Regions from separate parts of the Homo sapiens genome. Here regions 1, 3, 4, 5, 6 and 7 are each linked to region 2. Evidence: promoter capture Hi-C in 16 types of primary human blood cells and fetal thymus (Javierre and others, 2016). All regions are on one chromosome and are shown on one strand. The core of a region is centred on a gene start or on the middle of the fragment in contact, and the rest is flanking DNA. Distances in the headings are between cores, read along the strand shown.

The links. The method cuts DNA at HindIII sites, captures the fragments that hold promoters and counts their contacts. A CHiCAGO score of 5 or more calls a contact.
Region 1: a fragment that was not itself captured here is called in contact with the fragment with the promoter of EPHB6 in region 2 in 1 of 17 cell types (monocytes); the score reaches 6.2 in monocytes.
Region 3: the fragment with the promoter of TAS2R38 here is called in contact with the fragment with the promoter of EPHB6 in region 2 in 2 of 17 cell types (fetal thymus and naive CD4 T cells); the score reaches 7.3 in fetal thymus.
Region 4: a fragment that was not itself captured here is called in contact with the fragment with the promoter of EPHB6 in region 2 in 5 of 17 cell types (fetal thymus, activated CD4 T cells, non-activated CD4 T cells and 2 more); the score reaches 9.9 in fetal thymus.
Region 5: the fragment with the promoter of EPHA1-AS1 here is called in contact with the fragment with the promoter of EPHB6 in region 2 in 2 of 17 cell types (neutrophils and non-activated CD4 T cells); the score reaches 13.6 in neutrophils.
Region 6: a contact is called between a fragment that was not itself captured here and the fragment with the promoter of EPHB6 in region 2, in 6 of 17 cell types (fetal thymus, non-activated CD4 T cells, naive CD4 T cells and 3 more). The highest score is 16.3, in fetal thymus.
Region 7: a contact is called between a fragment that was not itself captured here and the fragment with the promoter of EPHB6 in region 2, in 1 of 17 cell types (neutrophils). The highest score is 5.9, in neutrophils.

The regions. Positions count from the first base shown.
Region 1 is chr7:143,490,184-143,493,606 of GRCh38, reverse strand. The region is part of intron 2 of EPHA1-AS1 (EPHA1 antisense RNA 1); the gene reads right to left. It overlaps LOC105375547 (a long non-coding RNA gene), which reads right to left and starts at 630. Exons shown (of 2, transcript XR_928075.3): 1 at 1-630. RefSeq lists a silencer at 1,337-1,631. The HindIII fragment of the contact is 736 bases long and covers 1,425-2,160 here.
Region 2 is chr7:142,853,427-142,857,292 of GRCh38, reverse strand. It overlaps EPHB6 (EPH receptor B6), which reads right to left and starts at 2,217. Exons shown (of 20, transcript NM_004445.6): 1 at 1,908-2,217. The HindIII fragment of the contact is 5,828 bases long and covers 1-3,866 here.
Region 3 is chr7:141,971,718-141,975,332 of GRCh38, reverse strand. It overlaps TAS2R38 (taste 2 receptor member 38), which reads left to right and starts at 1,560. Exons shown (of 1, transcript NM_176817.5): 1 at 1,560-2,702. The coding sequence starts at 1,644. The coding sequence ends at 2,645. The HindIII fragment of the contact is 7,298 bases long and covers 1-3,615 here.
Region 4 is chr7:142,292,968-142,296,519 of GRCh38, reverse strand. No RefSeq gene overlaps it. Among named protein-coding and RNA genes, the nearest start is that of PRSS58, 37 kb to the right of the region's middle. The HindIII fragment of the contact is 5,747 bases long and covers 1-3,552 here.
Region 5 is chr7:143,406,030-143,409,632 of GRCh38, reverse strand. EPHA1-AS1 (EPHA1 antisense RNA 1) reads right to left here and starts at 1,820. Exons shown (of 5, transcript NR_033897.1): 1 at 1,747-1,820. It overlaps EPHA1 (EPH receptor A1), which reads left to right and starts at 777. Exons shown (of 18, transcript NM_005232.5): 1 at 777-909; 2 at 1,955-2,022. The coding sequence starts at 828. RefSeq lists an enhancer at 93-705. The HindIII fragment of the contact is 7,900 bases long and covers 1-2,529 here.
Region 6 is chr7:142,308,690-142,312,390 of GRCh38, reverse strand. It overlaps TRB and TRBV3-1. Among named protein-coding and RNA genes, the nearest start is that of PRSS58, 52 kb to the right of the region's middle. The HindIII fragment of the contact is 5,998 bases long and covers 1-3,701 here.
Region 7 is chr7:143,433,230-143,436,992 of GRCh38, reverse strand. The region is part of intron 2 of EPHA1-AS1 (EPHA1 antisense RNA 1); the gene reads right to left. Among named protein-coding and RNA genes, the nearest start is that of TAS2R60, 8.3 kb to the left of the region's middle. The HindIII fragment of the contact is 6,221 bases long and covers 1-3,763 here.

The DNA.
Region 1 (3,423 bases), core at 543-3,042, 640 kb before region 2:
TGAGTAAGAAACACACCAAGAGCAAGTAATTTCCCTCTGGGGATGCCTAAATTCTGAAAAGTTATCAGCTAATACTGACAAAGTAAAGCCTGCATCACGAAGAAGAGGATGAACAACTGTATCAAGGACTTTCTAAGAGATGTACATCTCCACATTCAAAATGTCCTGTGCATGAAGTGAGCACTCAGCCTTGGTGAGTCACCCACAAGGAAGGCTAAGAGGAGGTGGTAGGAGGATAAAGCCCAAATTCCTGGGAGCACCCGGGACTGTTTTGTGATCCTCCACTGTTTTTCTCACTGGTTGTAGTTGGAGGCTCTTTGAATTCCTCCCGTGACCTAGATGATATAAATCAGTGTTTTCAAGCCACTTGATAGAGTCCTAGTTCTTGTCAGTCACCAAATCAACAGCATAAACTGAAGTGCTCAGTATATGTAGATATACATTTTAAAAACTAAAGAATGGAAGTCAAAAGGGAGATGACTCTTTTCTTGGCCTTGAGGCATTTCTATTCTGTTGGAGATAAGAAGGAATGGAGAAGGGCTTGGATTGGTATAAGAACCAAAGATAGACATAGACCTTCATCTTTTCTTGATAAAGAAGATGGTGAGAAGTGTCTGTTCATATCCTTCGCCCACTTTTTGATGGGGTTGTTTGTTTTTTTCTTGTAAATTTGTTTGAGTTCATTATAGATTCTGGATATTAGCCCTTTGTCAGATGAGTAGATTGCAAAAACTTTCTCCCATTCTGTACGTTGCCTGTTCACTCTGATGGTAGTTTCTTTTGCAGTGCTTAGGAAGGAGGCTTACGTATCAGAAGGCTACCAGCCTTTCAGCCTTGGCCCAAGTAGTTTTGCCATTTCTACTGGTGTAGTCCTCTTCCCCGTTTCCTTAGTCTCTGGTTTTGAGTCAATTAGTCCCGTTCATTGACACCTCCCCAATCAGCTATGTGTGAGATCTGAATCCTTTGAACCCAAAACCCACTAATTCATATCTCATTGCCTACAGTCCCACTAGCTATGCATGCTTAGAGCAATCAAACACCAAAGGATCTATTTTTCCCTTCTATACTACTTTAAACCACAGATTATGTATATTCACTTATCACAAATCTTTAGAGCTGGAAGAAATCTTAATGTACCTAATCTAACTTGCTCATTCTGTAGATGAAGAAACTGTGGCTTTAAAATGTAGCAATGTACCCAATGGATACGTAGATGGTTTCCTGATACAGCTTGAAGCCCAGGCCTCCTTATATGAATCTTAGCATACCTTAAACCTCATCTACTTTTTTAAGAGGCAAGAGCACTATTTCTTGTTTTTGTTTTGTTTTGTTTTTTGTTTCTACTTTATTATTTCTACAGATCTGCTGAGCTGATTACATAGCCAGACTCTATGTCTCCTCTTACCAGATGTCTTCATCAAGCTTCCTCTGAAAACTCCCCTGATAAGGTCATGATGACTCACTCTTTCTATTCTCCCTGCAGGCTGAGTTCCTAAGCAGGAGACCAGACTGATTGATTTGTTATCCCAATACCTTCCACTGGACCAGGCGCTGAACAGTGCTCAGTACATGTTTACCAAGGTGAGAAAAGTGGAATAAAATTCTCTGTCCCAAAAAGCTAAGAACGAGGCCATCTATCAATAAAAATAGTTTTTCATCATCTAAAAACATCACCAAAATGTATTGGAATAAAATAGTACTAAGTTCACACTGTGTGCAGAGCATGTACTACCTACTCACTGAGTACAGGTGAACCCTCTACTTTGATTCTTCACTATATTTAACAGGGTCTCTGTAATTAGGTGGTTTAAGCAATATAATGCATTTCAAGGGGCTTTATGACCCACATTCTGAAAACTTTCTGACGTTTATAGCACATATTCTATTGTTTCTTGTCCCCATGGCACTGGGTAGACTTTACCTCTGTAATTTGGACTTGTTGAGCATAGTAACAGCCACTTACGTTTACTTATACTTTACAAAGCACATTCATATTCATTTGTTCATCTGATCTTACTTAAAATGTTGTGAGATAAGCATTATTATTATTCATGCATTTCAAATGAAGAAACTGAGGCTCATAGAGGTCTAGTAAGTTGCACATAGCAGACTAATGGAAGAGGCAAACTCAAACTCAGACCCCTTGACTTATTTAAAGCTTTACCCCCACACCACATGTCTTTCTCTTCAAGGATAGATGGCTGTCCTGAGCTTCCCATCTGAGGTTCCTCAGGTGCCTCCCTTCCTAGACTACAGCTTTTCAGAACTCCTTCCCACCCTTCACTCATGGGCTTGGGTAGAGCTAGATGTGCAGGGCAGCCCTGACCCTTGTTCCAGCTTAGTCTCCAGGTAGATCTGAGACCTGGGCAAATCACCGTAGCCCTATTCCTTGGTTTCCTTGTTTATAAAATGAAAGGAATGAAACACTTAGCCCCTATATTTCTTTTCATTTTAAACAGTTGTGGTTACCTTCTGGAGGGTATCTCAATCCTTGAGGCCAACTCTGAAGGTGAAGATTCTGTCTATAGTAACAAGCAGCATACTGATCATAGTAGATCAGCATTGATCTACTTCTGCTGATACAAGGGAACCATCTCCCTAGGGCAGCAGTCAAAATTCCAGCCCCTGGCTCTGACCCTAGAACCTGATCTCCAACCTTGAGAACCCAAGGCCAGTTTCTATTCTTAGCAGTTTCTACAGTGACACCTTCTGGCCACTGCAGGACCAGGGCTGAATGGAGACAAGATGCCAGCTCCATCCAGGTCCTCTCTGCTCTCTCCCTCCACCAATGTTTCCAGCCAGAAGAAACATAAATTGAATTATGCATTTCAGCTTTCTTGCATTTTATTCTGTGGTTCTGCTCTCATTTTCTTAATGCAGATGTATGGCATTTGTCCTCTGGCTGTAGTGGCTTGCACAAACATGCTCTCATTAGATTCTCAGATTTGACCAAAATCCATTTTTAAAAATTTATTATTTGATCCTCTGGCACTGCTGATTTTCTAAACACAAATCCCTAACATTGAAAGGTGGAATTTCCTAGAGGTTGGTTGAAAGCATAGTGCCTGATATACTCAATAATGTTTTAATAAATGAATCAGTTTGTTAATTAAATTTTTTAAGAGCAGGAAATACATCTGGAGATTATATTTATATTAAGAAAAAGTGATGGCACTTAATTTTATTTTTCAAGAGGACCAGTCAGCATGGTAGAAGGGAGATGAACTGGTACAACCTTGGCTGACAAGGGAGAATTCACTCTGTTTGAAAAGATTCTGTGGGTTTCTATCACCTCATACTCAGTAGTAATACATGAGTATCATTGGTTTTCGAACGCTTGCATCACAACATTACTTTGTTAATCATTTGTTTAAACATCTAAATAAATGCCTGAAACTCACTATATAAATTGCATGTTATTAA
Region 2 (3,866 bases), core at 968-3,467:
TGGAGAAGCCAATTTGTAGATTACCTAGCAGAGGACAGTCCTGTGTCCCTGGAGGCCTCCAGCCCCTGAGAATGTCCCCCAGAGCACTGTGACTCAGACAAATGTGCCTCCCACTCCCAGGCTGTGGAGCTGGGGGAGGCTTTTAAGATGCAGGCAGTGTCTAGGTCTAGCCAGACAGCCACTTAGAATGAGCCACTCTGTGCACTGACCGGGGACATGCGTGGCTCTGGAAAAGAGCATAAGGGAGGGTGTTAAGGCAGGAGGCAAATGTGCCTGAGAGATGAGTAAGTGGAAGGTTGTGGAAGAAAGCCCCTGAGTGCCAGGAGTAGCACCTGCGTCAGCAGTGCCTGAGGATGTGTGTCTACCTGGTGGAGTGTGTAAGGGAATGTGTATGAGATGAGGTGGGCGGGAGCAGATGCTGTCTGTGTAGATGGGGGCTGTTGCTTTCCTGTGGCAGAAGATGCACATCAGTGCTGGTTCCGGAGTGGTTCCATGGGCCCTTCTTCCTCACCTTCGGCCCCTGCTCTACCCCCAGTCTGGCTGTGAGTTGCTCTTGGCCCCAGGAGGTACTTCTGCAGAAACACCTGGGCTGGGAGAGGGAGCCAAGTGGGGGGCGGGGAGGAGTGGGTAAAGAAAGGGAAACCTGAGGCTTCCCAAACCCTCCAGAACCTGCCATCCTCCTTCTACCTAGAGTGGGAACTCAGGGTCTAGGGCCCAGGCTCAGGACAGAGTGATAGCAGAACAGCCGTCCCAGAAGGAGGATCCTGCCTTTCCCATGCTCAGCCCACCCCAGCCTGTTGCTCCCCAGCATTCTGGTAACTCAGTGTCATTGCCAACCATCTTTTTGCACCCTGAATGGAGTAATAGACTCCAAACAAGTCCTCCTTCTGAGGCCACCAGGTAAGTACATAGACACCCCCACGCTAATCTTCCTTTGAGAAAAAAGGCCCACTGCTCTGAAAAGCCAAGTGGCCCCACTGAGCAGCACTCAGAAGCCTCAATGCTCCAATGCCCCTTACTTGGGCAGCTTCTGTGGTCTACTAACAGCCCCACACAGCTCCCTCCCACTGGTCTCTCAGCTCAGGACCAGCATCTCCCCTCCTAGAGCCTCAGTCAAGTTCCCCTGGCGGGCGGAGGGCCTGGGTTAACTGGGAACAGACCCAGCAGCTCCGCTCCATGGGCGCTGCCAGGGACATTACAACATTGCTATGCTGGGTCCATGCCAGCTCCCCCAGGGATGGGAGGAGAGAGGGTGCCAGACGGCCAAGATCGGTGGGTGGGGGTGTGGGGCAAGCAGGGCCAAGCACCCAGATGGAGGGAGCAGAGCGAGGGTGGAGCTGGGGCAGGAGCACGCAATAGAATTTGGTTGCACGTTGGGGGTGATGGCTGGGCAGCAGGAACCAAGCGTTCCTTCCACCTCCAAGGCTTAACTGTGGTCATGGAGCTGGGGGGGACAGTGCCTTGTGGGGAGCAGGGGACAGGTGTGTGGTCAGCCTCCTGACTCCTCCCAGCTCCAAGGGGATTGGAGTGATGCCACTGGAGTCAGAGGGGTGGCAATCCTGTTCCAAGCGTGGAGCTCCGTCTCTGCGAGGACCCTCCCAGATTAGGACTCCCAAGCCAGAGCCAGAGGAGAATGTCTGGGAACGCAACTGGGGGATCCTAACAGCAAGGGTAATGCGGTGTCAATGATGCCAGGTCAGAGTGGAGTGAGAGGGGAGTAGCCAGGTTGACCGTTTCCTCACCCTTCATGAACCCCACTCTGGCCTTGAGGAAGGATCCTCAGTACTCCCTCAGGAAGCCACCTAGGGGCTGAGGAGCCCCACTACTCTTGCAAACCTTAATTCCTCTGTCCCCAAGCATACTGTCCCCGACCCCCACAACGCCGCCTGCTAACCCCGCGGGCTCACCTTCCCGTTGGCCGCAGTCTCTGCAGGTCTGCGCCCCCCGAGGCCTCGCAGTGGACCCGGGGCTCCTGGAGCTCGCACGGTGCCACCCGCGTCTTCTCCAGTCCGGGGACCCCGTTGCACCCGGCCCGGGTCCGTTCGGCGCCGAGAGTCCCTGGGATTCCGGGGTGGACCTGACGCTGGCGGCAGGGGCTGCTCCAGAGGTGGGGCGCCGGGAGATCCTGGGGGCCCGCGTCGAGATCGCCGTCGCCAAGCTGGGTCCCGGGTCCCGCCGCCCGCTGCTGTAGAGCCGCGGCTGGAGCGAACGCAGCCCGGCCCGCCCCCTCCGCGTCCCCTCCCAAGCCGGCCCGGCCCGCCCCTTCAGCCCCTTTGGCCGCCTTCCCACTCCCTTCTTCCGGGGAGCCGAGCCCGCCCTCCCGGCCTAGGCGGTGAGTGCGCGGCGCCCGCTCCTCCGCCCCGGCGCGCGGGGGAGACGCGGGGCGCGCCCGGGGCCCCGCCTGTGCGCCGGGAAGGGGGCGGCCTCCTCCCGCGGGTCTTGGCCGGGAGGATCGCACGCGTGGGGCGCCTGCAGGAAGTGGGAAGGGAAGAGGCTGTCTGTAAAGCCCCTGCCTGGGCTCGGGCTCGGGCTCGGCTTGGGTCGGACACCCGCGGAGCGAAGCGCAACTGGCGGACCGTGGCAGTTCAGGGCAGGGCAGAGCCCTGCACACACCCCCTCGCGCCTCCCTCCTCTTCGGCTTTAACTCTAGGAACTAAAACAGTGGGGCTCCTACTCAGCTTGGAACTAAGGTGGGCGTGAGCTGAGCAAGAGAGAAGGAAGGAAAAGCAGGGGGTGGAGGGAAAGACAAACTGAGAAATCTGGGAGAGTACGGGCGGTGGTAGGGGGAGCCGAGGCAGCGGGAGAGGGGGGCGTCTCGGTATGAAAGCGTCGCCGTGCTAGCCGGGAACTCTTTTCTCTTTTCGTGTCTGGATCTTGGTCAACGTTGGGGCTTCTGAGTCGAACCTCCCTCCATCTACCCTCCCCAAGGGGCAGGGCAGTCGGGTTGAAAAGGGGAAGCGCTGCTGTACGCCTGGCTCTGACATGGCTTGGGCAAGTCGCTGCACCTCTGGGTGCCTCCTCCCTCGCCCGCGCTCCGGAGAGAACCTCCCTGCAGTGAGGAGGGGCGGTGCAAGGTGCTCTCAGCTGGCGCCTGGAGGCAGGGTTGAGGAACCGAGGGGGCGCCGCGAGGAAAAGTGTTTCCGCCCACCTCTAACCCCTTCTCTAGCCGAGGACGGGGATTTGGGGTCTATTGTTTGGGTCCTACAGAGCTGGGCTGGGGCCTTGCCACGAAGTGTTGCTACCACCTGCTGGTTTTTCTAGGGAGCACAAGCACCCGGTGCGATTCCCTTTGCCCCCTTTTCTCCCTGTATCGCCCTGTCCCATCTTGCTCTCCTGTTTATTAAAGCAAATGGGCTGATCAAAACTGGTACTTAAAGAGCATTCAGAAGCCGAAGAAAATTGTGAAAGAGATCTATGAGCCAACAAACACAATAAACAAAACAATGAAACTCAGTAAGAGTCACCTGGGAGAGACAAACAGGCTTTAATGAATTGACTGAATGAGTGATAGAAAGATAAAGGCTACCGAGCAAGTTCCCACTTGGCCAGGGGTTTGTTCACTCTTAATATCAGGAGTCAATAAATAAGTCTGATAGTATTTAATGACTGCATTTGGACGTCATTAATAATTCCACTTGTACTGACGGTTCTACTTTATCTTGTTTCTTCCCTTTGCCCTGAAACTCAGTGGTGGAGGGCTTCCTTCATTTTCTGGTTATCTCCAAGGCTTTCAAAGACTTCTGCAAAGAAACAGAATTTGCATTGTGTGTGGAATTACGTAACTCATACATTAACATGCCTGATTGCTAGACATCTATGGTTATATTGAAAACTTAAAAAAAAGACACATAACTAGATTATGTTAA
Region 3 (3,615 bases), core at 311-2,810, 880 kb after region 2:
TTACTTAGATAATCCCAAACACTGTGTGTACATAAGTCAAATGGAGGGGGTGTATCAATGAAGGTTTGTGTTACCTTTCTCTGAAAGAGCCCTTGATTATTGAAAAATTAAGATTGGATCTGGTGTTCCAAGAAATAACATAAAGAACTTTATTTTTTAATAAAAGATTATAATCTTGATATAAATGGTTCTAACTGTATAGTTATATATCTCTGCTTGTGCAGTAGAGCAAGTTTCTACCTAGACTTTTTAGGGAGGCAAACATCTTTTCTAAACACCTTTAGTGCAACACCGCCACCTGGTGTGGTGAAGACAAGGAGAAAATTAGCTTAAGTTGAAAGTGCAGAATTCTGTGTTTGACACTCTGTAAGCATGAATGACCCAAATGAAGTGGTCACAAACACAATTAATTAAATACAACTGCTACATCATGATGCACAAATAAGGACTACATAAATATCTGCGTATGAACAGTTCAGAATAAAACAAAAGTGAACATCTTTAGTAATCACTGACTTATGTCACTACTAATAATAAAAAAGGAGCTTTAGTCAAAAGAAAACATAAAAAATACAAAGAGAAAGTATCGAAAAACACCAATGGGGCAGCACCAATAACTCTTAAAGGATTTATCGGGGGAAATTCACTCATAAGTGGCAGTTGAACAATGAGAACACATGGACACAGGGAGGGGAACATCAAACACCAGGGCCTGTCAGGGGGTAGGGGGCAAGGGGAAGGAGACCATTAGGAGAAATACCTAATATAGATAACGGGTTGATGGGTGCAGCGAACCACCATGGCAGGTGTATGCCTATGTAACAAGCCTGCATGTTCTGCACATGTACCCCAGAACTTATACTAATTAAAAAATAAACATAATAATAATCCAAACCAGCTATGCCCCCTTTCCTCTCCCTTCATGACAGCGTGCTAGTCTTGTTCATGTTAATATTCTCCTTGCCAGGCACAGTGCCTGGCATAATAATGATGATTGCATGAAACCTTTGGCAACAGCAAATAAAACTGCAATCATACACTGACACATGGAAAGGAACCATGCATTTATCTATATTAAAAACACAGTCTGTGATAAGAGTCATTACTTCACAGATGAGAGAAGGAATGCAAATGAAAAGAGACTCTATTTCAAACCTTAGATCACCAAGAATATCTGCTTTGCCTGCTGCAGGGTGCCTCAAAACCCATAAGCAAATCCTGTTCTCTTCGCCACCCCCACAGGTCCAGATGGGCATGCAAAACTGGATTGGGGAAATTGAGGCCCTGTTTTGTTTGCATCCGTGATGCTGTGCTATGGCCTTCTGGGAAGGCGGTTGTACAGGAACACCTGGATTTATTAATCTTGCATCACCCAAGAGGTAGAACCATCAGTCTTCCACCCTATGATAAGCTCTTACGTGTATCCAAGAGATGTTCTAGAGAAACAACATCCCTCTAAGTTTCCTGCCAGAACTTTTTATGCGCTCGCTTTGGGATAGATCTAGGCAAAGAGCTGGATGCTTTGTGAAGGAAAGGTCCTGGCTTGGAACGTACATTTACCTTTCTGCACTGGGTGGCAACCAGGTCTTTAGATTAGCCAACTAGAGAAGAGAAGTAGAATAGCCAATTAGAGAAGTGACATCATGTTGACTCTAACTCGCATCCGCACTGTGTCCTATGAAGTCAGGAGTACATTTCTGTTCATTTCAGTCCTGGAGTTTGCAGTGGGGTTTCTGACCAATGCCTTCGTTTTCTTGGTGAATTTTTGGGATGTAGTGAAGAGGCAGGCACTGAGCAACAGTGATTGTGTGCTGCTGTGTCTCAGCATCAGCCGGCTTTTCCTGCATGGACTGCTGTTCCTGAGTGCTATCCAGCTTACCCACTTCCAGAAGTTGAGTGAACCACTGAACCACAGCTACCAAGCCATCATCATGCTATGGATGATTGCAAACCAAGCCAACCTCTGGCTTGCTGCCTGCCTCAGCCTGCTTTACTGCTCCAAGCTCATCCGTTTCTCTCACACCTTCCTGATCTGCTTGGCAAGCTGGGTCTCCAGGAAGATCTCCCAGATGCTCCTGGGTATTATTCTTTGCTCCTGCATCTGCACTGTCCTCTGTGTTTGGTGCTTTTTTAGCAGACCTCACTTCACAGTCACAACTGTGCTATTCATGAATAACAATACAAGGCTCAACTGGCAGATTAAAGATCTCAATTTATTTTATTCCTTTCTCTTCTGCTATCTGTGGTCTGTGCCTCCTTTCCTATTGTTTCTGGTTTCTTCTGGGATGCTGACTGTCTCCCTGGGAAGGCACATGAGGACAATGAAGGTCTATACCAGAAACTCTCGTGACCCCAGCCTGGAGGCCCACATTAAAGCCCTCAAGTCTCTTGTCTCCTTTTTCTGCTTCTTTGTGATATCATCCTGTGCTGCCTTCATCTCTGTGCCCCTACTGATTCTGTGGCGCGACAAAATAGGGGTGATGGTTTGTGTTGGGATAATGGCAGCTTGTCCCTCTGGGCATGCAGCCATCCTGATCTCAGGCAATGCCAAGTTGAGGAGAGCTGTGATGACCATTCTGCTCTGGGCTCAGAGCAGCCTGAAGGTAAGAGCCGACCACAAGGCAGATTCCCGGACACTGTGCTGAGAATGGACATGAAATGAGCTCTTCATTAATACGCCTGTGAGTCTTCATAAATATGCCTCTGATTCTTCAGGAATACAACTCTGATTCCTCACAAAGCCTTCCAATTTCTTCTATAAAACACAATTGAAAGTCTCTCCACTTTGTATCAATGAACTCACTTATAGATGAATAAAATAATTAAGCACTATACATGGCCTAGGCAAGAATAATGTTGGTACCCTAGGTTTGTTTTGATAAAATGAACAAAATAATTAAGTATTTGGTGTAAATCCTTTATATACTATAGCTTATTATTGGTATAAATCAAACCATGAGAAATCATCTCTTCTGAAATAATATCTAAATCCCAAGATAATATGTTTGGCTTTTAACATGACTGTTAAACCTCTTTCTCGGAACTTGTGCTAGCATCATTTTTGGAAATATTCACTACTACAATAAGGATATAATCCTCTTCAAACTTCGCAATTTTCATGGAAACAAAGACAAACTTGGAATGATAATTATGTCATAATTCCAGCTTCAAGAGGTACCACATAACTTCAACTTCAAGAGGCACGAGAGGATAGGGGTCGTTTTGTCTGAAAATACACTGATCCAGAAATGCACTTTTACCTACTCTATAATGATGGAAGAGAAGCAGATATTTGCTCAGTAGGTGACCTGGATGCCAGTAGGTGCCCTGTGTGGGCTTTCTGGCTATGCCCAATTTGCCTTTGAAGATGGTGCTTTGCCTGGTACCAAGTATTGGTCTCTCTGGTTGGAGACCCTACCAAAATCACCTAGCTGAAAGGTAAATTTGTAGAGATTTGGCATTGTCTGTATTCCTGCACAGGAACCCAGCCAGGAAGGCTTTCCTCAAATCAGGTACTGAAAGACTCAGGAGAAAACAAGGTATACCAGACATTTAAATCTTGATAGGCTTCGTGGTTCACAGGCTTCACAGTTGTAGCAGCTCACCACCAAGGCT
Region 4 (3,552 bases), core at 940-3,439, 560 kb after region 2:
TTTATTCTTATGTTCTTGTGTTCTAGTGTTTTCTCTTTCCATATTTGCAACTCTCTTATCCAATAACTGAGAAACATGGTTCTGTTATCCTTATAGATTTACATATTTGATTAGTCCCTTTACAGGTAACTAAATGTGTGCTGTGGCTGCCATCATCTCTCCTTTGTAAATGGCCTCCTCTCTCCGTTCAAGTTCTGACTTCCTGTGCCATGGAGACCACCCATGTTGAAACTCTCCTCACCTCAGTCCAATTTCTGACACACCACACGAGGGATGCCTTGCCCCACGCGGTGCCCTTTGCAGTCTGCTGGGGCTTCCACAATCTGCAGGAGGCTGCTTTCCTCATCCCCTTTTGACTCCACCCCACTTTTGGGGAGACACCTTCCACATGCTGCATGGTCTCTGTCACCTTCCAACAGGCCTCCCTTCTACACAGATACAAAGAAATGCACGTTAGTCCTCTGTATTTCATGTCGCTGTGTGTTTATTGCATAACTTGAGGCATCTGACATGGGCGATGATCAGGGAAGACCTCAGGACCTTTCAGGAAGATCTTCTTAGTGTACAGGGTGGTGGTTGCAGCTAATGAGCTTGTTTGTACTTGATTTGTCCGGGTTTACAAATATATAGAAGGACCCTGATTGCAATGGGTACCATGTGAAAGGGGGAAATAAATCCATACAAATAAAAAAAAACTACAGGTTATTCATCTTGGTTTTCAGTGTGTGTGAATATTCTAGATGGTGTGACTGAGCCAATATTGAGAAGAAATAACTTTTTAAAATCACTATATGATATTTGACTGACCATCAAATAATCGGGCCCAAACTATTCTCATCAGCATTCATAGACTATATAGAAAACCAATTATCAGTTGGGGATTGATGCAATTGGAGAAGGTTTTTTGAAGGAGAGTACTCTAAGCCAGATCTTAGGGCAATCTATCTAATCCTGTTCCAAGTATTTTTTTTCTAAGAAACTATTTCTGCTGAATTGTCTACAAAGAAGCCAGCATTAGCTTTGACTACTACTACCTGGCATGCTATTTCCCAGTAACAGGGAGACACTTTTTTGATTTCCTTTCACAATTTGTAACTGCTACCTAAAGAGAAAAATGTATATTTGCTGGGCTGGAGTTTTCACTTATCTGACTCATCTTTAACTATTTTAGAACCTACAATCTTCTTTTCGCTTTGTTGTCTACTTATCTTCTTACTATCTCTCTCCTGATCCTATGTCCCCAAGCTATAGGACAGAGAGAAAAAGAGTCAAAGCTCTAACAAGACGATTTTCCAGCTCGACAGAAGGAAGAAGTTTCCAGAAGGTCCTGTGGTTTCCTGTCCAGAATAGAGGCTGGATGACTGTTGGTGAAGATGTTTTGGACAAGGCTTAAGTGCCCAATGGGGCAAAGAAGAACAGAAGAACTTAAGCATCTACTCTATGCCAGAGACAGTGTCATAAACTGGAAATTTTAACATACAATATTTTCTTCAGAAGCTCGTATTCTAGTTGAAGAGAAAAGGAAATCAAAGCCTGCAACAAAATTCAAAAGTTATAATAGCAACATGCACAGGGTTTCAAAATGGCACCGATAAGAAATAGAACGGATTAGCATCTAACCAATTGGGGCATTATGGCAGTAGAGTTAGGGGAGGTCATAGGTTAATGTCAGAGATTAATTATAGATAGAGATGATACTTCAGGTAAATTTAATGGATGACTAGAAGTTCACCAGCAAAGAGGGAAAGTAACCTCATTCATTCATTCAGCAGTTATTCACTGAGCAATTACTATGTGCCACGTACATACCGGCTTTGAGGTGTAATAGTGAGCAAATCAGACATCATTTATGCCCTCAGGAATTTTAAACAACCTGGAAAAAATAGACATTAAGCAGATATTTATACAAGTAATATGTGACTGGAAGTAAATGTAATGAAAGTAAAGCTGCCTAGAAAGTTCAGGAAGGCCTGACTTTAGTTGGAGAATGCAGGTGGAGTTCAGAGTTCTCCACGATTAGAGTTGAAGAATGATGGGAGTTAACCAGGTAAGGTGTGTGGGAAGGCACAGAGGTTTAAAACAGCATACAGTGTCCAAGAACATGAACTTTGGTGCTGGAATTTAAACTTATCCTGATGTCAATGTGGAGCCACCAAAGCATTTTAAGCGGAAAATGTAATGATCCATGTGCATTTTAGAAAGATTACTCTGATGTGGAGAGTGAGTTGAAGGAGAATAAAGCCACAAACAAGGAAGTGGTTTTAGCACGATTTCAATAATTCAGGAGAGAAAATGTGATACTGAACCAAGTCATAGGTGGTTGACTTGAAAGGAAAATCAAGGATCTTCAAAGAAAAGTCAAGGATCTTTAAGACAGGTAAAATCGTCAAGACTTTGAATACAGGTAGTAAGCAAGGTGGATAAAGAAGTTAAGGGTGGGCCAGGTGTGGTAGCTTAGGCCTATAATCCCAGCACTTTGGAAGCCCAAGGCAGGTGGATCACCTGAGGTCAGGAGTTCGAGACCAGCCTGGCCAACATGGCAAAATCCCATCTCTACTAAAAATACAAAAATAACCCGGCATGGTGGCACACGCCTGTAATCCCAGTTACTTGGGAGGCTAAGGCAGGAGAATCGCTTGAACCCAGGAGGAGGAGGTTGCAGTGGGCCGAGATCGCATCATTTGCACTCCAGCCTGGGTGATAAGAGTGAAACTCAGTCAAAAAAAAAAAAAAGTTAAGGGTGACTTCTGTGTTTCAAGTTTGGCTAACCATATGTGTGTAGCTTCATTGCACTGACAGAAAATATAGAAAGAGAAAGCTATGATGAATTCAGCGCTAGACTAGCTGACCCTAGGTATGGGAGCAGACATGTTCAGTAGAAGTTGGATCTGAGAAGAGCTCAGGTGAGAGTCAGTATTTGAGGGACTGATTATGAATGATAAGAAATTAGATTATAAAAAGGCCAAGAGAGGTAATGTGCACAGTGAGAGAAGAATTTATCCATTGGTTGTATTGAAAGTATTTCATTCTTCGAGTAACGCAGCTCTGTTTAACAGTGCTTTGTGTCATCACAGTAAAACTCTATTAAATCAAGAAAGTCAAGAGTAGTCCTTAACCAGATGAGGTCTGTAAATCCCATACTTCCCTCTGAAGGCATGTTTATGAATAACTTCAGCAACAATATTTGCCATACTTGAAAAATGAAGAATCCTCCTGATGAATGTCTGGATGTCTCCTATCATACTCTTGCTGTTTCCCAGAGGTCTTGGAATATCGATAAAGTTGGTTGGTGTGATCTCGGCTCACTGCAACCTCCACTCCCCAGGTTCAAGCGATTCTGCTGCCTCAGCCTTCTGATTAGCTGGGACTACAGGTGCCCGCCACCATGCCTGGCTATTTTTTTTTGTATTTTAGTAGAGACGGGGTTTCACCATGTTGGCCAGGATGGTCTTGATCTCCTGACCTCGTGATCTGCCCACCTCGGCCTCCCAAAGTGCTGGGATTATAGGCTTGAGCCACTGCGCCCAGCCCTGTTCTCTCTTATTATATTCA
Region 5 (3,603 bases), core at 571-3,070, 550 kb before region 2:
TATCCTTCCCTGCCACCTGTGGCTGGAACCTTAACCAGATATTCATGTCTGCTGTGTAAGTGCATGTCAAGGTTCAAACTCCTTTTCTTGTTTACCCAGCCCTGGCCCACACCTGCCTTTCTGCCCTGATTCCCAAGACAAATCCTGCGCCCCAGCAGTCAAACTGGTCCATTCACCACTCCCTGGGCGCACCTTGAGGCTCCCTGCCTTCAGGCCCTTGCTGGTGCCTTTCCCAATCTCTGCCACTGAAAACCCAGGTCACACCAGCTCTCCCTGAAGACTCAACTAATGTGCCCCGATGACTGGGCTTGCTTCCTCTTCTAATCTCCAGATGCTTCACTGCAGGTTGTACCCCACCTTGCATTGTGGTCATCTAAGCCTCCCCTGCTAGAGGGTGAAGATATGACTCTTACCCCTTGCCTTCCCCGGCCCTATTACCCAGCTCTGGGGCCTGCACAAAGACAGAAAGAGGAATATAGGAGTGTAATTCAAGTCAGAGGTAGAATTAGGTTAAAAGCTGGATCAAGATTGGGTTGAGTTTAGGATTAGAATTGGGAAAAGGTTCGTCAATTCTTAATCCCACCTACTAGGCGGCGCCCGCAGTCTCATTCGGGTCAAGACGCCTCCGGTTCTTGAATTTGATTACCAGTCTAGCAAGTTTCTTTCCTGCCCTACTGTCCCTTTAAGGAGGTGAACCAGGTGAGGCCGGGACTCCGCCCCCGGCGCTGGCCCCGCCCCCCGCCCCCGCCCGGCCCGCCCGGCTCTCCTAGTCCCTTGCAACCTGGCGCTGCCATCCGGGCCACTGTCCCAGGTCCCGGCCCGGAGCTATGGAGCGGCGCTGGCCCCTGGGGCTAGGGCTGGTGCTGCTGCTCTGCGCCCCGCTGCCCCCGGGGGCGCGCGCCAAGGAAGGTACCGACCCCCGCCCCCGCGCCCCCAACCCCCGCGCCCCGCCCCTTCCCGGGGCCCGGCCAGCACCCCCCTGCAGAAGCCGGCATTCCTAGGGGCCATGTTCCCCGAGACCCTCGCCAGCTCTCTCGCTGTGCCCGACCGCCAGGCTATCGACTGGCCAGGCCCATCTTTGGTCTTTAACCCCAAGCGGCTGCTCTCCCGGGTCAGTCACCCCCACTCCCGCAGGCCAGCAATCTGCTCCTGGGAGTGGGGAGGGAATTCCGGACCCTTGCCAGGAAGTAGCACCTGCACCCGCACCCCTGCCTGCATTCCCAGACAGTCCCAGCTTCAGGTGCCCACCCCAGAGATCTGAGCCCTTGGAAGTTGAAGGTGGGAAGTCGCCTCCTGCCAACCTAGGCCAGGGACAGAGGGAGCTGCCTCCGGGAGAAGGGTTAGGACTGACGCCACAGGGGTTCCCAGTTGTCCGAGTCGAATATTCCATGTGAAAGTTGGAACACCCTCTCCGGCCTTACTCCCCCCCACTTCCCAGGCAGGTAGCTGTGCCTCTTATCCCCACTTCACGGCTCTGATCACTGGCCAGGTCAGGCCAAAGCAGGCTTCGGACAGTGGAGGTGAGCCTCCCTACCCAGGAAACCCCTTCTGAGGTCCCCGGTCCACCCTGCCCACTCCTGGCTAGCAGAGGTGAGCTCCTCCTGCCCTCCACGCGTTCCAATCCTGCAGCTGATGGGTGTCCCAGGACGCAGCAGCCTGGGTAACTGAGCGTCTCGTGGGGCTGCTCTTCTTGCATTGACTTTGGTCAAAGACCCAGCGCCCCAACCCTTGTCCCACTCTACCTGCCTTCCTTCACACACACAAAGAAGAGTGAAATCCCTGGAGCTCTTCACTCCTCAGTCCTGAGCCCTTTTTCTCCCCTAAGCCTCAGGAAGTCACAGCTTTTAGGAACAGGATGTTGCAGCCTGGGGCTGAGGCCCCAGAATGATTAATGTGGGCTGCAGGGGCACCTCCTCCCCCAGAGGTGACAGACTTCTTTTCTCCCCACTTTCAGTTACTCTGATGGACACAAGCAAGGCACAGGGAGAGCTGGGCTGGCTGCTGGATCCCCCAAAAGATGGGGTAAGTGTCGGAAGAGGGAAGGATCTTGGAAAACTCCTGAAGGCCAGTGGGAAATGGGGTGGAGAGGTGGGTGGAGGAACAGAGAAAAGAGCAGGAAAAACTGGAAGTGTCTCCTCAGGGAGGGGGAGAGGAGGCTGAGTCAGAGCCTCCTCAATGGGACAAGGGGTGGGGGGGTCAGACTTCACCTCAAGATGAACGCTTGAATGGCCTGGCTCCTCCAGTGAATACTTGGGAATATTGTGAATACAAGCTGATACTTGTGAGGGGGAGAGGAGCTCACATACCCGGGGAGAGAATGCACCATGCTGGGGATGGTTGAAGGCTGAGACCAGTGCTTTGCTTGGGGAGGGATAGAAAAGGCAGAAAAGCATCCTCAATCTGAGATCCATTCATCCCAATGAAGTTGCATTGATAGGTTTCAGGGGGTGGGGAAACCCCATGAAAGTGTACTCTAAATTCTGTATATGTAAGCGGGCATTTTTTTTTCTGGAGAGACCAGCCAAAGCTTTCATCAAATTCTTCAAAGGGTCTTTGACTCCTCCGAAGTTAAAAGCTGCTCCCCTAAAGGTTTCTGAGCCCTTAGCTCATCCTCCACACCTCCTCAGGCTGACTGCGTGCACACCATGCATTCCAGCTGTTTGAAAGTGTCAGAGCTTGTTCCAGTTCCCTTCCTTCCTTGGATGTTCCTAAGACTCAGTGAACAGGTTGTGAGGTGGGTCTGAGAGAGCATATTCAGACTCAAATGCAGAGAGCAGCTCTTATGATGTACAAAAAACCAAACTCAGTTTTTTCCTACTGCACTCTCAACACAAATCACTTCGGTGACCTGTGGTCACCAAAATGCGTGTAGGGATTCCTCCCGCCTGCAGTCAGTTCTCTCTGGCAGATTCTTCAGTGGACAGTAGCTGAGTGTCCTCTAATCTTATTCAGTTCTTACACTATCTACCTGGAGATAGCCTCAGGTTGAGGGCTCAGCCCCACAAGACTGCCCTCCTCTAGACAACAATCACAAGTAACATGTTGTCACCTATACTTCTGTTCCATCGGCTGTAATCAGGTTTACCTGACCCTCCTCCTCGGGTTCAATTAGTTTGCTAGGATGGCTCACAGAACTCAGGGAAACATTGACTTGGATTTACTGGCTTACTATAACGGTTATTACAAATGGTACCATGAACACCAGATGGAATAGCTGCATGGGGCAAGGTATATGTGAAGGAGGCGAGCCACCCTGCAGGGACCTAATCATGTATGGCCATCCAGAAGCCCTCCCAACCCCATCCTTCTGGGCTTTTATGGAGACTTCATTACATAGGCGTGATTAATTAGATCATTGCCCACTGGTTATCAGCTCAACCTTCAACCTCTCTACCTTCCCTGGAAGTTGGGGGTGGGGCCGAAAGTCCCAACTCCAATCACAAGGTTGCCTTCTGCCACCCAGGCCTCCCCCACCCCAGTCTAGTTCCCATCCCCGGCAGTCAGCTCACTAGCATATAAAAAGACATTTGTCACTTCAGGGATTTTGAGGGCTTTAGGGGTTGTTTGCCAGGAAATGTGGACAAAGACCAAATATATATTTTA
Region 6 (3,701 bases), core at 363-2,862, 540 kb after region 2:
TTATTCTCTATCCCTTCCCCAGGTCCCTGCCTTAGAGGTTTCACCAGAGCACAGCTCCTGCCTGTGGCCAAAACAGTATTTGGCCACTCACCGACCCAGTGTCAGCATCCAGATGGGTTCCACATCTCACAACCCTGAGCAGCAGAGAAGGGTTTGAAAGGCCAGGGGAGAATGAAGACGAAGGAGGTGTTGGCAACAACACAGAGAGTCAGCAGCCAGAACGCCAGGTATCCACACACATAAGACATTCTAAATTTTTACTCAACAGAAATTGTCTATGTCTGTGTCTGGGCACCATGGCAACACCTTATCTCTACAAAAATTAGCGGAATGTAGTGGTGCCTGTGTGTAGTCCCAGCTATTCAAGAGGCTGAAGTGGGAGGATTGCTTGAGCCATGGAAGTCAAGGCTGTAGTGAGCCATGATTGTGTCACTGCACTCCAGACAGAGCAAGACCCTGCTCCCACCACACCCCTCAAAAGAAAAAAAAAAAAGGAAAAGAAATGAAATGAAATGAAATAAAGAAAAGAAAAAAGAACAGAAAATTGTCTATGCCTGGATCTCTAGTAATGTGCAGAACAGACAGTATCCCAGCCCTCTTGAGTTCTTGGGCCAGTCTGACTTGTTCAACAAATACTCCTTGAGCAACAGCTAGGAGCAAGCAGAAAATCACCAACATTTTCACCCCCAGAATTCTATTTGTGTAAGGCAATTCAACATATTCAGAAAACAACTAGAGAATAAAAATATATCTTACATAAAGTTTGAGAAATGTAATCAGTATGTCATTGTTCAATCACTTCATATATGTGATGCCATATTTCCTCATATATTAAATCAGGAGAACTGAAATGAGATGATCTCTAAAGCCCTGCCATTTCTAAGATGTTAGAAACCACATTAGTTCATCAGTTCTGTGGAGAACTTTCCAACTAGGAACCAGCTGGATGACTTCCTATGGGTCTTCTGTACTTCACTGCATAAGCTATTTATGCTTTGTGACCAGTTAAGAATTGGAATATCATCAATTTTCTTAAAAGGTACTTTTATGCCAATATTGGCTTTTCATTCTAGAGCATTTGGAGATACAAATGAACACAAATAAACACAAAAATGAGATGATTCATACTTTCAAAGTGATTTTTACCATCTATTTATTGTTGTATTACATCAGTGTTACCTTTTCATGATGATAATTATAATTGTAGGCATGAGATTAGGGTCGTAAATCTATGTTATATGTAAATCTACATGGGGCTGAGGGAAGATACTTATCCATGATTTAAGTCAAGGATTTATAATTTAGATTTGTTTTAACCTGGGGATGTTCTCAGTCAGGAGGAAAATTGTAGCATTCTTCTAATGCAAAAATTTCATCAGATTTTCAATGTGGCCCATAAAACAAACAAACAAAAAATGTAAAGCATGTAGATTAGAATTTAATGGGGTTGAGTATTCTCCCCCTCAACAGGTTACATATAGGATCGATCTCTATCCTGCTACAGTTGGAGATATTCTATTCACTAGACAAAAACCTAAAATTAGCCTTATTTTAAACACTAGTATTATTACCATTAAAATTGTTTCCATTGGTATCTACTTCAGCAAGAAAACACTTTGGCCCTTCTACAAAGTAGAACAAATTTGAACGAATAAAATTTTATTGCATTGTTTGGCTCTCAATAAGTAAACCAAATTGCAAAGACAATTTAAAAAAAGCAATAGAATTTAAACTGAAAACTTGAATAATGGTGAAAGCGAAAGGTTTAATTGTCCTGAGGACAACAGCTAACATAAGCATTTCCCACAACAAGGGGTGGTGACCAGCGAGTTCAAGTGGTCTGAATTAGGGATGGATCTAAGAAGGAAAATGATCTCAGGACCATGTGAATTGCAAGAAGAGTGAAGAGTGGAATGGTAAATATGAAGAAAAGCCAAGTAAACATATTTATATAAAATAGAAGTAGTATATGTGATTGAAGATAAGAGGACATAACTGACTCCAAGACAGCTGGGATTTAGGACACAGAGTACTACCAAGGAGCCCTGAGAACCTGTGTAAGAAAATCTTTTTTCATTTTTTATTTTTCTTTCTGGGCCAGGTCCTAAGTTGTGTATGCAGAGGGTGGCACTCCCGAAGGCCCAGCAGAGAACAAACTCTGGAAGGCTGTAGACACGGGCAGGGATTTCAGAGGATACCCAGGGCAGGAAGGCAATGGCATTCAGACCCAGTGAGAGTGGAGAGTCGTGGTGGGTGACTGTGATTCCCACTAAGACCCTGGAAAGGCCATGCACTAGCAATGATGACCACATGCTGGGGCTCCCTAAGAGGGAGGGCAAGGCTGAAATAGACCCTAGCAAGTCCTACATTCAACCCTCCCAGAATAAAACCCAATACATTTCCAAGAAATAACATAATGCAGAGCCTCAAGCCTATATTGTCCACAATGCTTCACATCAACCCTTTCTAATCTTTCATGTAGGATATTTAGAAGTCTCCTAATCATTCATGCCACCCAAAAATCTATCTCCTTTCTGATCCATACTACTACCAGTGTTCCTCTACCAAAATATCAGTTTCATCATGTTGTTTCACTTGGAGTAGGACCAATGGCTCACCACTGCCTAGAGATTTGTGTCCAAAGTCCTTTCAGGTCTCCCAATATCCCCAGTCATCTGGCTATTGCCTGCTCTTGAGGACAGTTCAAGATGATATTCATCAGAATTGGGAGAGACACTTGCTGGTCACCCTTCTTGAAGAGAAGGAGCCCACAACGCACAAGGCTACCTCCACCGGCATCTCCTCAACACTTTCCAGTTTACCTATTGCCATGGAATTTCATGCCTCTCCAAATATTTTTCTGTTGAATAAAGTACTCACTGATCATCAGAATTGTCTCTTGATCTTGGAAATATTTCCTTCCCCCTCCTTTATGCTTGTGCTCATCAACCATTTTCAGCAATCGTGTTTTTTTCATAATGTTATATAAAATACGTACCAATATGTGCCACACAGAAAGAAAAGAAAGAGCTTCCCCCATCAGTTAAGATCATCAGTGCATAGGACAGGCTCTTTTTTGTTTGTGGAGCCCTAATACTTTAGTGGCTTTGTTGTGAAGCCCTGCTCTAGCTGATAAACAATTCTGTGAGACTTTTGTGTGCATAAGATGGAGGACTTCTCCACTGGGTGCACTAGCTGGCTGTACTACAGACTGAAACTCCATCAGAGGCCATCAGGGAATGGAGACTGGAGCCCTGGGTGCAGGTGCACACGCTGCCCTGCAGCTTCCTGGCTGAGCCGGGAGGTTTGTGCACAGGGATGCAGTGACTTTGCAGGGCTGTGTCTTGGCTGCTGGCACAGAAATACACAGCAGAGTCACCAAGCTCCAGGGAATTGATGTGAAGATTTAAGTGAGCTTTGTCTGGAGATTTAGGTGAGAAGCGATTTGGAACTGTTTCATTTATAATGAGCTCCTTATTATTGTAGCTAAACATTATCTTCAGAAATTTCTTAGAGTCCTGTTTATACCAATACATAGTATCATGGCCCAGATTTTGTTCACATTTAATGGACTTGTCGTTTCCCATCTGTGTGACCAGGTATTTTGGAGTCTGGGAAACAGCTGTGTCCAAGGGACCTGCAAAGGAAAGAAGCAGAATTCAGGCAAATCCTAGGAGACGGCCTGCTGTTGTTGTCATGGT
Region 7 (3,763 bases), core at 520-3,019, 580 kb before region 2:
AGGGCTGGGACACATCTTCAGGGAAAAACAGCCTCTCTGGCTGAGTCAAGCCACCTTGTTGACACCAGAGACTCAGAAGCCCTTGTCCCTGGATTCATAGAAAATCCCAGCCACCAGCAAACACCCCCAGTCCCCAGAATTTGAAAAGATAATTTCTGCAATCTCCTTTGGCATGCAAATCACTCCCAGCTCAATGACACCATCTCTATTTGCATAACCTGTATTTGCCTGTCCTTTCTCAGAGCCAGATGCAGAGAAACATTAACAGAATAGAGGCTGCTGGGGTGACTGAAAATACCCACATTTTGTACATGATGTCTTAACTGTACTATTTCTTTCCTAACTCTTCTTTAAAAGACATTGTTACTCTTATTGCCCTCCCCAAACCAAAAACCTTCCCTTCACGTCCTGCCTTAATATTTTATTCAGTAGCCTCTATACACTGCCTTAGCTCACTTCCCGAATGGGTGGAACAGAAAAATCATTCGCATGCACAAGGCTTCACATTACCAAGAAAAGGCCCCCTAACCACTGGCCTCTCATGCTGCCTAAAATTTCACTGTCAAGCTCCATATTGGAGTTCATGGAATCTCCAGTTAAAATGTGGATTTCTCTGATATGTTACCATCATCTGTTAACTGTTATCCCCTTGGCTCCAGAGTGCTTGATCAACCAAAAGTAATCAGTTCCTAAGAAGCCTCTGAGGAAATGAGAGAGAGTAGATAAATCATAATGAGAAGACGAGAAAGACAGAGAAGGGAAACTGACCCAGAGGGGACATCACCATAGGAGCTGGGGGAAGCAAGAGTTGGTGGAATGACAAGAGGAGCTCAGGGCAAAGCTGGGCCACAGGGAAGTTTTGCTTTATGTGGAGTGAGCCCTGTCCTATAACAATACTGAATATATAATAGTAAAAACCACCCTGCTGAAACACCTTGTCTTTTTTTTTTTTTTTTTTTTTGACAGTCTCACTCTGTCGCCAGGCTGGAGTGCGGTGATGTGATCTCGGCTCACTGCAACCTCTGCCTCCCGGGTTCAAGCAACTCTCCTGCCTCAGCCTCCCAAGTAGCTGGGACTACAGGCATGTGCCACCATGCCCCGCTAATTTTTGGATTTTTAGTAGAGAAGGGGTTTCATCATGTTGGCCAGGATGATCTTGATCTCTTGACCTTGTGATCTGCCCGCCTTGGCCTCCCAAAGTGCTTGGATTACAGGTGTGAGCCACTGCATAGGGCCCCACCTTGTCATTTTTAAAGTGATTTCACACATCTTACATTTGGCCTTTACCGCCAACCACACAAAATGACACTGGTTCAGATCAGCCAACCCAGGCTCAGGGAGCCATGAGGACAGGTTCAACTGAGGAAAGAATGCCTATGAATGTGGAAAAAGTAAAAACAAAAGGGTTAAGAGGGAAGAGAGAGAAGGAGGGTAGAAGAAAGCAGAGGTGTGGATAGAAAAACAGGGAAGGGAATCCCCTGGCAAATGTCTCAGATCTTGGAGTCAGGGCTCTCCACCAAGATGAGTCACAGAAAATAGCCTTGCCTACTTCCCATGGTCTCACTCAAGATTCTACAGGTGAGAGAGGCCTGTGTGTGAAAGATTAAAGAGAAATAAAAACAAGGACAAACACTTGTGGTGGCGACTTCAAGAAAAAGAGGTTCAGCTCTCGAATATAGCAATTGCTTGAAGAGCTGCTTGTTTGTTTGTTTGTTTGTTTGTTTTGAGACGGAGTCTCGCTCTGTCGCCCAGGCTGGAGTGCAGTGGTTTGATCTTGGCTCACTGCAAGCTCCACCTCCCGGGTTCACGCCATTCTCCTGCCTCAGCCTCCGGAGTAGCTGGGACTACAGGCGCCCGCCACCACGCCCGGCTAATTGAAGAGCTGCTAGTTTTTATTGAACTCTCAAAAGATTGTTAGAGAGCGGATAATTCAACCTGATCAACTGTTTTGTAACACAGCTTCAGCGTCTTTCTTTAATTCTTTGCATGTCTTCCTCTGGCTTCTTGAAGACAACAGCAATGAGTGGCTTCTGCATGCTCCACAGCATTTTGGCTCGTCTCAAAATCCTTTGGCCGGAGCCCAGATTCATGATGTCATCAAGAAGCGAGCTGAGGCCATGGTACACACGCCCTGTTGCGGTCACGTGTAACCAAGTAGACATCTAATGTTTGCGGGCAAACTTCATGTTCTCTGCAGAGGTGCCAAAGCGTGCACTTTGCCAGAACAAGTCTTCCCCAGGACTTTTCCTTTCTACAGTTGATAGCTCTAGAAAGTAAACATTTTCTCCTGTTTCAATACTCTTCTATAAGAAGGCTGAAAGAGTACCTTTCCCGCAGGCACCTGTTTATCCATCTCTCAGTGCTTCACTAGATATATCTTATGGGGGTCCCATGTCCCATTCATAGTCTGCCACCAAAAGATACCATAAGCAAGATGATGTTTTAGGTTTTTTCTGTTTTTCAAGAGTCCTTCGAATGTGAAATAGCAATCAAAATACAAGGTGTTTCTCACAAAAGTTTGGGTCACATTTCTCTTTTTTAAAGGTGTCTCATTCCTGCAGCTGAAGCTAACGAATTATTTTCTGCAGCATGACTGGAGATAGTTTTTTAGGATGAAGTCTGAGTCTTCTGTGAAATGGTAGTAATGGTAAACAGGTAACAGCAGAAGACTGGATTAAAATGGAAGATTCTGCAAAGAGCTACTGGCACTTCCCTCACGTTAGTCCTCTACACCAGTAAAGTGCTTTTTGGTTTCTGTTGATTCGTTTGTTTTTTGTTTTTATTTTCTTTTTCTTATCACATTCAAGAATACATTCTTGAATTCTTAGAGAATGAATTCTTGGTTCATCTTAGAGACATACAAAAATACATTTCATTTGACAGGTTTCTCAATCTTGGTGCCCATTCCCAACTGAACCTTTGAGTGACGTGCATTGCATAAATACTTCCACGTATTTCCATGGCTTTATCGGGTAACTGATGGCCCACTCCAGGGAAAGGTGGAGGAAAAAGGAAATAACAATGTTTTTAATGGCTAGACTGCACATAAATGTTAAGCTAAACTATGCACAAATTTAATAATGATTTCCCTGCAAGATAAGCCCTAAATATTTTTTCTCACCCTGAAGACTTCCTCTGACTCTTATATTTAAGTAAGTAATTTAGAATAAACATTGGCTGTAATAGCAATCCGGCATAATAGAGAATTTTAGCTTTCTGAAAGTAAATTTGGGAATTTCTAACATCTTCCATTATCAAAATGTGAATGTACAGTTGAATATCGTTTAATATTCAGGTAAATCTACAGACTTTCCTCTCAAATAAAAAATAGCATTTGATAGTTATTTTTGTAATTATAAAGTTAGCCTGCAAGGAAGTTGAGTCCAATTCTATTTCAACTAAAAGATCTTTAGAATGAATCTTTCTCTTTGCCTTGCTCCATTCGAGCATTTAGAAGCAATAAAATTAATCTCTAAAGGAATAAATCAAACGTTCTTCCCATAATGCCATGAACTTCACTCAATGTCTAACATCTACTGGAGGGATAAGTTATGTTCGATAATTTCTAAATCAGTGGTTTACAAATTATGCTTTCCAGGGAGTTCTCATGGTAGGGAAAGGGTAAGAGGAGAACTGAGAAAGTAGAACCATAAACCCTCATTTCCTTTTCAAACACAGCAGTCCTGCTTATATGTATTTTATATACTGAGCTTCTACATACTATTTCAAAGAAAGAACTCCATTGCAAGAAACAAATTTTAAA